Linked DNA regions of Homo sapiens: region 2 is linked to region 1. Evidence: promoter capture Hi-C in 16 types of primary human blood cells and fetal thymus (Javierre and others, 2016). All regions are on one chromosome and are shown on one strand. Each heading gives the region's core, a stretch centred on a gene start or on the middle of the fragment in contact. The rest is flanking DNA. Distances are from core to core; before and after follow the strand shown.

Region 1 (5,531 bases), core at 770-3,269:
GATGTCTACATGGCAGCTGTCAGCTGGAGCCTAGAGGCAGATGCTGCACCTTTTAGATGGCATATTTCCTTTTCTATTTGCTATTCTATTTCTATTTGATAGTCCACACCATCCTACTGTGCCTTATAGGCTGGCAGCTTCACTCGTTTATATTACCCCGGCTGGCCCCTGTGAACCATTAGAATTGGAAACCTCTGATTTTTCTACAGACACCCTGAAGAGGCTTGATGCTTATTCCATTTTCAAGTTGTCTGTTCAACTGCAAGGTTTTTTAATTCTGCCCAAATCATAAATTATGTTCGTGTTTTCTATGTAATATATTGATAAAAAGGCTGACAGAAGAAATGTAAACAAGGCACCTTTTAGATGTTAACTAAGATATATTAACCACAACATATAGTTGTGATACATGTACTTGCGGTGATCAAATAAAAAATACTTGGCCGGGCACGGTGGCTCATGCCTGTAATCTCAGCGCTTTGGGAGGCCGAGCTGGGCGGATCACTTGAGGTCAGGAGTTGGAGATCAGCCTGGCCAACATAATGAAACCTCATCTCTACTAAAAATATAAAAATTAGCCGGGTGTGGTGGCACACGCCTGTAATCCCATCTACTTTGGATGCTGAGGCAGGAGAATCGCTTGAACCCGGGAGGCAGAGGTTGCAGCCAACCAAGATCGGGCCATTGTACTCCAGCCTGGGGGACAAGAGCGAGACTTTGTCTAAAAAAAAAAAAAAAACTAAAAAATAAAAAATACTTAACGTTTATTTACTCCTCAAAGGTAAATTATAATACTCATCTCAGATGACTATGGAGTCAAGAGCTCCATGTATCTATACCTCTCTGGCCCCAGGTAAATCATTAAAACTCTTAGTTTCCGCTCTCCCTTATGTACAATAAAACAGTACTGCATAGGTAGAAAGGCTGGGGGGAAGTAAATGAAGCCCAGTGAAATGAGAATGTCTATTAACACCGTTCCCTCTCCCCCCGCCCCCAATTTCTTCAGCTCCATTAAGGAAGGAAGTGCTATATGAAAAAGTCATTCCTTAGTATCTGTGTTCAGACACTCTGTAGACAAAATTCTCAACGGAGGGGTGGGGCATCAGAATCAACCAGGTGAGCCTATACTCACGCCCTTAAAAAGGGTGTTAATACTGGACTCAGAACTTTAAAGAAAAACGCACTGATCTCATTCATTGAAGTTATTTTTTGTATGCAGAATAAAATTGTGTGAATAAAATGCAAGCAGCACCGTCTGTAAGTAGACCAGAACTGGGGGAAAGAAACTGTAAGGCCCGAGTACGCATTATGGTACAAAACGTTCTCACCAGCCCCAATTCCTCTCCATCTAGGAGGGTTGGATGCGCGCGATTTTATCGGGGCACGGCGACAAAGGAGCTGAAACGCGGGCACTCGCTGGAGCGCAAACCCTCCCGACTCCCGGCGGGGAGCGACCTGAGCTCGGGAGAGGGGCGCCCCGTGTCCCACGGCCCGCCGGCTGCGGTGCTGAACCGCGGAAAGCGACGCGGGCCCGGGACACGATGTGCGCGGCGCCGGGGCTGAAAGCTGGCCGGGAGGGCGGAGGCGCGAGTTCCGCCCTGGGCCGCGGAGTAGTCCGAGGGCTCACACCTCCCCAAGTGGCGCAGCCTGGGCCCGCGGGGAGGCTCCGCGCAGCTCCCCCGAGCCTCCGCCGGGCCTCGGCCGTGCTCCGCGGCGCGGCTGTTACCCCGCCCCTCCTCCGCGCCCCCAACCTGCAGCCGCGGCCGTTCACCTGGTGGCGTCCGCGACGTTCCTGATGAACAGGGAGGTGTTGGGGGGCCTCGTGTAGCGAGACATGACCGCTTCCTCCGTTCCCTCCGGGTCTGCCCGCGGCCGCTGGACTCGCTCCGTCTCCCGCTACCGCTGCTACCACCACAGGAGCTCCGCCGGCCCCCGGCGCGACCCCCACCCCTCGGCCTCAGCCCCGCCAGCGCGCAGCCGCAGAGGCCGGCGCAGAGGGGGCGCAGCGCGGCGCCAGCCTGGACGCACGGGCCGGGGGCGGGGGCGGCGCCGGCGCGGCCCAGGGGCCGCGGGAATTCCGAAGACAGGAGCGCGGCCGTTCCCAGGCCCTATGGGATCCGGGTATGGGGGGTCCTGGAGTGCGACGGGATTTGGGGAGGGGGCGGCGAGGGCCAGTGTATGTCAGGAGGGCGGAGGCCAAGAGGGGGCTTGAGGCCGCGGCGGGGACGCCGGGGGTTAGAGGACCCAGAGGTGGTGGCGGGGCTGCGGCTGGGCGGAGGTGGGGTCAGTGAGAGCCGCTTTCAACCGCGCCCCCGCTCAGCCTCCGCGGCCCTCAGCGCATCGTCCTGAGCGCAGGACCTTGGCAGTTGGTAGGCCTCCTGCCCCTCTGGTCTTGAGCCTTCGGCTTTCCAACTGTGAGGTCTCGGTTTTGTTCGGATTTGTTTTTTTAATAGAGACGGGGTCTCGCTGTGTTGCCCAGGTGGTCTCAAACTCCTGGGCTCAAGCCTCTCCCGCCTCGGCCTTCCAAAGTGCTGGGATTACAGGTGTGAGCCACCGCGCCTGGCCTGTTGGATTTTTAAGTATTATATGATTCTTCATCCTTTATTCACTTGGGGCATAACACTCAGCTGTGAGTACATTCATTCAGATGTTTATTGAGCGTCTACTATGCGCCAGGCACTTAGCGTGGGATATAGCAATGAACAAACAGGCCAAGCCCCGCCCTCTGAGCTTACATTCTAGAGGGGGGACAAACGAATGTACAAATGAATACATGATGTAGAAGACAACAGTTTAAATGCAGGGACAGTTAAGCAAAATTTAAATTACCCTCTCCCTATTCCCCCAAAATGTTGTAGCCCATCCCCTTCTAGTTAGACTCGTCTTCGCCTTGCTCCTGTGGCCGGCAGGCACAGCCTGTTATTCAGGGCTGGGAGTGTAACCAGGCAACTCCTAAGTGTGAAGAGTGCCCCTTTTCGCTCGCAGAAGTGGTAGGCTTTGAAGAATACATGTCGTGGTCACCCTTCTAGCTCACAGCCCTCCCAGAGGCTGTGGAGGTTCCTGGGTCTGCAGCTGTACTGGAACGGTGGCTATTCTTTCATTCAGAAGGGATTGCTCTGGCACTGCAGGCACAGGGCTAGACTGGCACCGTGCCTATTCCCCTAGAGCTTAGAATTTGGTAGGGAGGCAGAATCTAACAATCACACTGGTAAAGATACAAACTATAATACAGGGCTATGAAAAGAACTATATGCTGCTGAGAGCAGGCATTGTGGGATGGTGAGCAAGGCTAGAGGGTCACTTATGTTCCCTGAACAAGTCTTGAAGAGATGGGTAAAGAATGGAGAAGAGTAATTAGTGCAGTGGAACAGCACGTGCAAAGGCTTTGAGGCAATATAGTAAATGAGGCAAAACAGGAGCATGAGGCTGGAGAAGAGTTGGAAAATGAGGCTGGAGAGCAGGCTGGATTCATAATACAAAAGCTTAGAATGCTTACCATGTGTTAGTTGGCTAGGGCTGCCATGACAAAGCACCACAGATTTGGTGGCCCGAAACAACAGAAATTTATTCTCTTGTAGTTCAGAGGCCAGAAGTCTGAAATCCAGGTGTCCGCAGGGCCATCATCTATCTGAAGGCACTCTAGGGGAATCCTCTGTTTCTTCCAGTCTTTGGTGGCCCCACACATGTTTTGGCTGTGGATACATAGATCCAGTCTCCACTTCTGTCTTCACATGGCCTCCTGTCTTTCTCTCTCTCTTTCTCTGTCTCTCTCTCTTTTTATTTTAGATGGAGTCTATGTTGCCTAGGCTGATTTCAAACTCTTAGGCTCAAGTGATCCTCCTGCCTTGGCCTCCCAAAGTTGAGATTACAGGTGTGAGCCACTGTATTAGTCCGTTTTCACACTGCTGATAAAGACATACCCAAGACTGGGGAGGCCTCACAATCATGGTGTAGGGCAAAAGGCACATCTTACATGGTGGCAGACAGAGAATGAGAGCCAAGCGAAAGGGGTTTCCCCTTATAAAACCATCAGATCTCGTGAGACTTATTCACTACCAGGAGAACAGTATGGGGAACTGCCCCCATGATTCAGTTATCTCCCTCTAGGTCCCTCCCACAATACGTGGGAATTATGGGAGCTAACAATTCAAGATGAAATTTGGGTGGGGACAGAGCCAAATGATATCAGCCATCTATCCTATCCAGTTCTATCTCTTATAAGGACATTTGTCGTTGGATTTAGGGCCCACTTGGTTAATTCAGAATGATCTCATCTTGAAATCCTCACTTACATCTGCAAAGATTCTTTTTCCAGATAAGGATACATACCTGGAGATAGGACTTGGACATGTATTTTTGGGGGCCGCCATTCAAACCACTACATTGACTTTGCAAATAAAAAACTTGACCAAAGAAAAGAAACTTGACCTGGTGGGTAGTCACAATTACTCATCCCTGACATACTGTTAAGTGGAGAAAAATCAATTCATGAGACATGTAAACGATTAACCTATTTAGTTAAAAATATATTGGCCAGGCGTGGTGACTCATGCCTGTATCCTGGTGCTGTGGGAGGCCAAGTTGGGAAGATTGCTCCAAGCTAGAAGTTCGTGACCAGCTGGGCAACATAAGAGAATCTCCCCATCTCTACAGAAAATTAAAAAAAAAAAAATTAGCCAACCATGGTGGCACATGCTTGTAGTCCTAGCTGCTCAGGTGGCTGAGGCAAGAGGATTGCTTGAGCCCAGGAGTTGGAGGCTGCAGTGAACTATGTTTGTGCCAGTGCACTGCATTCCAGCATGAGTGACAGAGCAAGACCCTGTCTGTAAATAAATAAATAAATTTATCTGTATGTTCATGTATAAATAGAATTTTTCTATTCTATTTTTACCTATTCAGGTATAGGTATTATACTCTGATACTTGCTTTCTTCTTATCTTTTAGTATTGTCAGATTTTTTTAATGCTTTTTATAAATATAGAAAAAAACCACAAAGCTCTTTACAGTTTGAAAAAAGCTTTTGTAGGAGTATCCAAAAATACTTAGCATGCATGTATGGATAGGGGGTGTTTTTTCTGTTCCTTTTGATGGAAATACCTGAGGAAAGGGTCTTCAACTGTGTAAGGAGTTTCTCTTAGCAACTTGAACTTAAAAGGTAGCTGGAATTGATATAAAATAAGTTGTGGAGCCATAATTATTTATATTACATAAAAACGTATGTTCTTTTTTCCAGATATGATTTGAGGCAGCTAGTGTAAAGTGTAAGAAAGCTGTTTTCTGGTTGGAAGGCCTAAGGAGAGAACATCGTCGGGCACGGCCAACTAAGGAATGTTACAGTCAGCTTGGCCAGTGTCTTGCCCTGGTCCTTAAACCAGTTGAGATGAGTAACTGATGAAGCTGTATTTTGTCTTCCCTTTGGCAGATTAGGATACTTGAAGAGGTAGGGGAAAGGCTTAGGTCAAGAGTAAACACCCTGCCTGTCCCTGGACTCATAAACATATTCATATTTACCCTTTGTTCTAGAACTTAAG
Region 2 (5,531 bases), core at 149-2,648, 240 kb after region 1:
AAACATTCTTCAGTCTCCAGACAATGCACAGCATATACATGATTTATGAAATTCTTACAGTAATTCTGCAGCCATGGGGCATTTCGACAATATTATTGTCTTCAGAACAATCAGTACTACACTGCTTCCCATTAAAACCCAAGTTACAATTATAGGCAAACTTTGAATGATAACCACATCGTCAACTTCTCAAAAGTAGTCCTGTACTTTTTTCAGCACTAACCAACCAGAAGGTATAGGTATGCCACAATTTGCCTTCTAGCATCTTGTGAGAAAATACTGGAGCCAGTTTAACTTCTTTGGGGAATTCAAGTTGGGTCTAGGTACAGATGCTGGCTGGGCGCGATGGCTCATACCTGTAATCCTAAAACTTTGGGAGGTGGAGGTGGAGGGGAGGATCGCTTGAGGCCAGAAATTCAAGACCAGCCTGGCTAACATGGTGAGACCCTGTCTCTATGCAAAAAAAGGGGGTGGGTACAGATGCTATTAAATAGTAATATATACCATATATGCAGAATGGAAAGCAAAATTTTTCCAAAAATATCATTCCTCAGAAAAGAGAGTCACCTTGTGTTTTTGTCTTTGTCCTTTTTGAACAAAATACTCTTCAGGAAGACAATATGTCGTGAAAGGGTCACAAGTAATGGCAATTTTCTGTCTTATAAAGGTCACCTAGCAAAATCAGGGGAAAAAAGGCAAAGACATATTGATTAATTATTCCTGAGGGTATGACTTTGGATAACAAGTATTGGAGATCATTAAGTAGGCTTTTAAATAATTATTGAACAGAGAAATACAAGAAGTACTTATTTATGGTGATTATGAATATGTAGGAAAAAAACCCTGATGTTTAACAAGTGGTTCTCGAGATGTAGTAAAATCTCCACTGACAGCATTCTACTCAATGTAAGGCATGCTCTACCTTAGATAACTAGGAGGGAACTGTTAGAGGACTCACAATGTTGTTTCAGTGATGATAGAGACCCAGTTGTAAACGATGCATGTGAAGTATTTGAATAAAATTGTTTGAGGAAAAACCAATTTTTCTAAATTAGTACCATTTGCATAATTTGTGCTATTAGATGTAAATGAGTATTTAAATACTGAATCAATAAATGGTTTAAATAGACTTAAAATTATTTACATTCACAAAAGTCTACATTTGAAATATAGGTTAAATAATATAAACTCTTAAAGCTGCATAATCAAGTTGGAAAAAATGCTAACACTTGGGGTGTTGATGTGTATGTAGGTATGGAGGATGCAAGAAAGCTCCCCTAGGTGATTGCAACCCTAATCCCCTACCATTTCCCCTCCCTATCCCTTTAAACAACTACAGAGAAAACAGTGTCTCACAAATTATAAGAATTGTTTAGGGTCCTTATTTAAAAATACAGATTTCTGTATTTCTCCCTGGAGATTCTGATTCAAGAAGACCGGGATGGGGCTGGGAATCTGCATCCTTAAGCACTCTAGATGATTCATAAAATCAGGTAACTTTGGAAAATATGGGCCTAGAGCATTAAATGAAACAGTACTATGTGTATTGGTGGCACCGTTTCTTGCACCTTATAAAGCTAAGTGAATTCCTTCCTCTCCTACGGAGATGGAAAGATACATAGGACTGTCTCCCGCAGTCACCCCCTTTACTGCACTGCTTCCCAGGGAAAAGAAACAAAAGCCTAATTACCAAGGCCACCTTATAAGCAGTCTGGGAGAAGGCCAGAATTAGTTCCAAGTTATTGGCTATCTAGGTGAGGAAAGTTGAGTACTATGGGGCTTAGCTCTCTGCAAAGCCAGAGGGGAGAAAACTGAGTAGCAGCCCTCTTAGGGACTTAGGCAATAATGAAAGCAGAAGGCAAACAAAAGCAGCTTGTAGGAATGGAATTCTCCACGTGGTGATGAGGGTTAGCATGGGACTGAGGTTTAAATTGCTCTATCATAGTTGGCCTTTCATGAGAGGGGGATTGGTTTCATGACTCTCAATTTTGGAAGAATAGAATAACCCTGCTGGCCCCAGGAGCTTATTAGGAAAGATTGAGGAAGCAAGATGGTCAAGGTCTCAGGCAGCTGGACACCAGTTAATGCCCCCACCCTCCTGAGTGTAGTCACTGGATCAGCTCCCTTTCAAAATAGCACAAAAGGGCAAACTCATGGATTCTTTTTTTTTTTTTTTTTTTTTTTGAGACGGAGTCTCGCTCTGTTGCCCAGGCTGGCGCCCAGTGGCGCGATCTCGGCTCACTGCAACCTCTGCTTCCCGGGTTCAAGCGAATCTCCTGCCTCAACCTCCTGAGTAGCTGGGATTATAGGTGCGTGCCACCACTCCTGGCTAATTTTTGTATTTTTAGTAGAGACGGGGTTTCACCATGTTGGTCAGGCTGGTCTTGAACTCCTGACTTTGTGATCCACCCGCCTCGGCCTCCCAAAGTGCTAGGATTACAGGCATGAACCACCACACCCAGCCAAACTCATGGATTCTTGATAACGGATAAGACCAATGTCATCTGAATTAACAAAGGACCCCTTAGGAGTCAGACATGAGCTCATGAGTCACTAAACTCCATGTAACGCTATCATATTATAGTCAAGGATAGAGTCTGTAATAAAAATGATCCTCTCAGGCCTACAACCCCATCAACCCTTCACCCGTAATACAACCCAGCATACAAAAATACCCAAGGATGGCAGTGAAAAGAAAAACCACTTTAGTAAACACTAGAAGGCCATGATCAAATGAAAGAAAAATTCAGGAACTTACTCAGAATTTCCCATTTGTTAAGATCTCTTAATTAACAGAGAAGGAAAAGATTTTAGGTTGGAAAGAAAATCCTTAGATATTTCTGATGTGGCCAATGGGTTCATTCTAACACTACTTTACAAACCACAGGTTGTGACTCATTAGTGGATTGTGAGATCTTTTTAAAAAAAGCAAATGAAAGAGAAAATACCAGAATGCATTGCATGTAGAGAGGATATAACTTGGTAAGTTTTTTTTAGTAACATTTGTATGAGTGTGTGATAGTTTGCAATGTGAACTGTATTTATTGTGGCTCACAATAACAAGTTTAAAATTGATTTCATAAAGGTGAACTACAGTTCTGTCCCAGGGCAATTTTATCTAGCGTTCAAACATGGCTTCAGGCATGAGTTCACATGGACGTTCTACTTTTTAAAGATGGTTTAGTTTTTCAAGATTGAATATGAGAACCACACTTCATCTCAGCTTTAACTGCTAAATCATTTATTGAAACCATAAATGTAATATTCTACAAAGAAAAGACTATTGACTTGTAAATATTTGTTGCACTGTTCTAACAATATTGTTTTGGATTTTTTTTTAAATCCTGGAATTAAGTTGTTTCTTGGAATAATATGATACTTCAAATTGGTATCTTAAAATCATGAACGAGACTACTAGAGCTTATATTTTCACTTTCCCAGGACTATTGCAAAATACTGATGATACAACTGAAATAAGATCACTGCCTGAACTTAACTGTAATTTATGATAAAAGTAGGTCTTTTGAGGACCTCTAGGACAAGTATGACACATTTTAAAATCACCCAGCCTTTCAAAATTCTGAATGATGTGAAAGAGTTTTGCATTTACCATCAGATTTTTCTCACATATTCTACTGTTCCTGATGACATGTTAAGAGAATATAAACATTCTTAGGCGACACTCTTATAAATAGTTCCCTGGTACGAACAGATTGAAAAGGGTAGAAAAGTAAAATAAACTTTTGTTTGTTTGTTTGTTGAGATGGAGTCTCGCACTGTCGCCTGGGCTGGAGTGCAATGGTGCGATATTGGCTCACTGCAACCTCTGCCTCCTGGGCTCACACGATTCTCCCGCCTCACCCTCCTGAGTAGCTGGGATTACAGGCGCACACCACCACACTGGGCTAATTTTGTGTATTTTTAGTAGAGACAGGGTTTCACTATGTTGGCCAGGATGGTCTTGAACTCCTGACCTCATGGTCCGCCCACCTCAGCCTCCCAAAGTGCTGGGATTACAGATGTGAGCCACCGCGCCCGGCCAAATAAACTTTTTATTAAATCCAATTCTGGAAGTGATATTGATGTCATACATGTATTAAGCTGGAAAAGTATGAATATTAAAATAACATTTAAAACTTCCTACTTTTAAGATAATTCACCTCTTAATTACAAGGAAAAGCACTACATGTCAATAAACATTTCGAATTTACAGCCTACTTCTTCTATTTAGTCTTACATTAAATTAATAGTAAATATAGCTATTGATCTATTGGTTGAACAACTCAATTTCTTGGATGCTAGTTATTATCCATGGTCTCTGCTGCGCACAGTGGTAAAGTCCTACACAACTGCAGTTCTAAAAACTGACATCTATAAGGACCTATCAAAAATTAGTTTATTTTTCATTATTTTTAGATATTAAAATCCTTTCATCTCCAGTATCTGCCTTTTAGCCATTTCTCTAGCACAGAGTCTGGAATATAATTGGAACCCTATAAATATCTGTTGGATAAAAGAACATTGTTAATTTCCCTCAGAAAGTCACACCATCATAGGAGATTTAGCAATCATTATTGACAAAAGAATCAAAACTCATGGCTCCTTTTATTTACCCCACACTCTTTTGGTCATGCTTGTCCTCAACACATTGAGGGAGAATAAACCAAGTCCGGAGATGCAGCAAGGCCAGGGAGCAGGGTCTTGTGAACTCTGCTAAGGAGTTTGGGCTGATATCTAGGAGTCATGGAGAGCTTCAGACCTGGAGGGTGTTAAGCAAGGAAGCTTAAGAAGGTCAGGAAGCAAGGAAGGTCAGAATTGTGGTGGTTGAGAGAGGCCACTCGGGGTCTGTATGAAGGATGGATGGATGGATGGATGGATGGATGGATGGATGGATGGATGGATGGATGGATGAATGGGGTAGAGAGACACTGGTTAAATAGCTACTGAAAGGTCCGATGCAGTTGCTCATGTCTATAATCCAAGCACTTTGGGAGCCCAAGATGGGAGGATCACTTGAGCCCAGGAGTTTGAGACCAGCCTGGGCAACATAGCGACATTCCATCTCTACAAAAAAACAAACAAAAATTAGCCAGGTGTGGTGGTGCACACCTGTAGTCCTAGCTACTTGGGAGGCTGAAGCAGGAGAATCACTTGGGCCTAGGAGTTTGAGGTTATGGTATGCTGGGATCATGCCACTGCACTCCAGCATGGGCAACATAATGAGACTGTCTCTCAAAAAAAAAAAAAAAATACTGAAATCCAAGTAAAAAGGAGATGGTGGTCTAAACCAAGATAATGGCAGAGGAGATGGAGAGAACAGATTCAATAGACCTTTGTAAGGCTGAGCTGAAAGAACCGAGTGACTGACTGCAGGTGAACAGGAGGGGAGGGAAGAGTCAAGAATGAGGCCCAAGTGTCTGGCAGAAGCACAGGGAGGAAAGTCACACCATCATAGGTGATTTAGCAAGAAGGAAGCCAATTTTAGACATATTAGATTTGAGGCTTTTCACCTATAGAAGATTCTAGCAAAA

What was found. The method cuts DNA at HindIII sites, captures the fragments that hold promoters and counts their contacts. A CHiCAGO score of 5 or more calls a contact.
Region 2: a fragment that was not itself captured here is called in contact with the fragment with the promoter of SRSF12 in region 1 in 1 of 17 cell types (neutrophils); the score reaches 5.2 in neutrophils.

What each region holds. Positions count from the first base shown.
Region 1 is chr6:89,116,052-89,121,582 of GRCh38, forward strand. It overlaps SRSF12 (serine and arginine rich splicing factor 12), which reads right to left and starts at 2,020. Exons shown (of 5, transcript NM_080743.5): 1 at 1,772-2,020. The coding sequence starts at 1,836. It also overlaps a transcript of PM20D2 not described here. RefSeq lists a silencer at 1,604-1,873. The HindIII fragment of the contact is 10,924 bases long and covers 1-3,480 here.
Region 2 is chr6:89,357,882-89,363,412 of GRCh38, forward strand. No RefSeq gene overlaps it. Among named protein-coding and RNA genes, the nearest start is that of UBE2J1, 7.9 kb to the left of the region's middle. The HindIII fragment of the contact is 6,763 bases long and covers 1-4,780 here.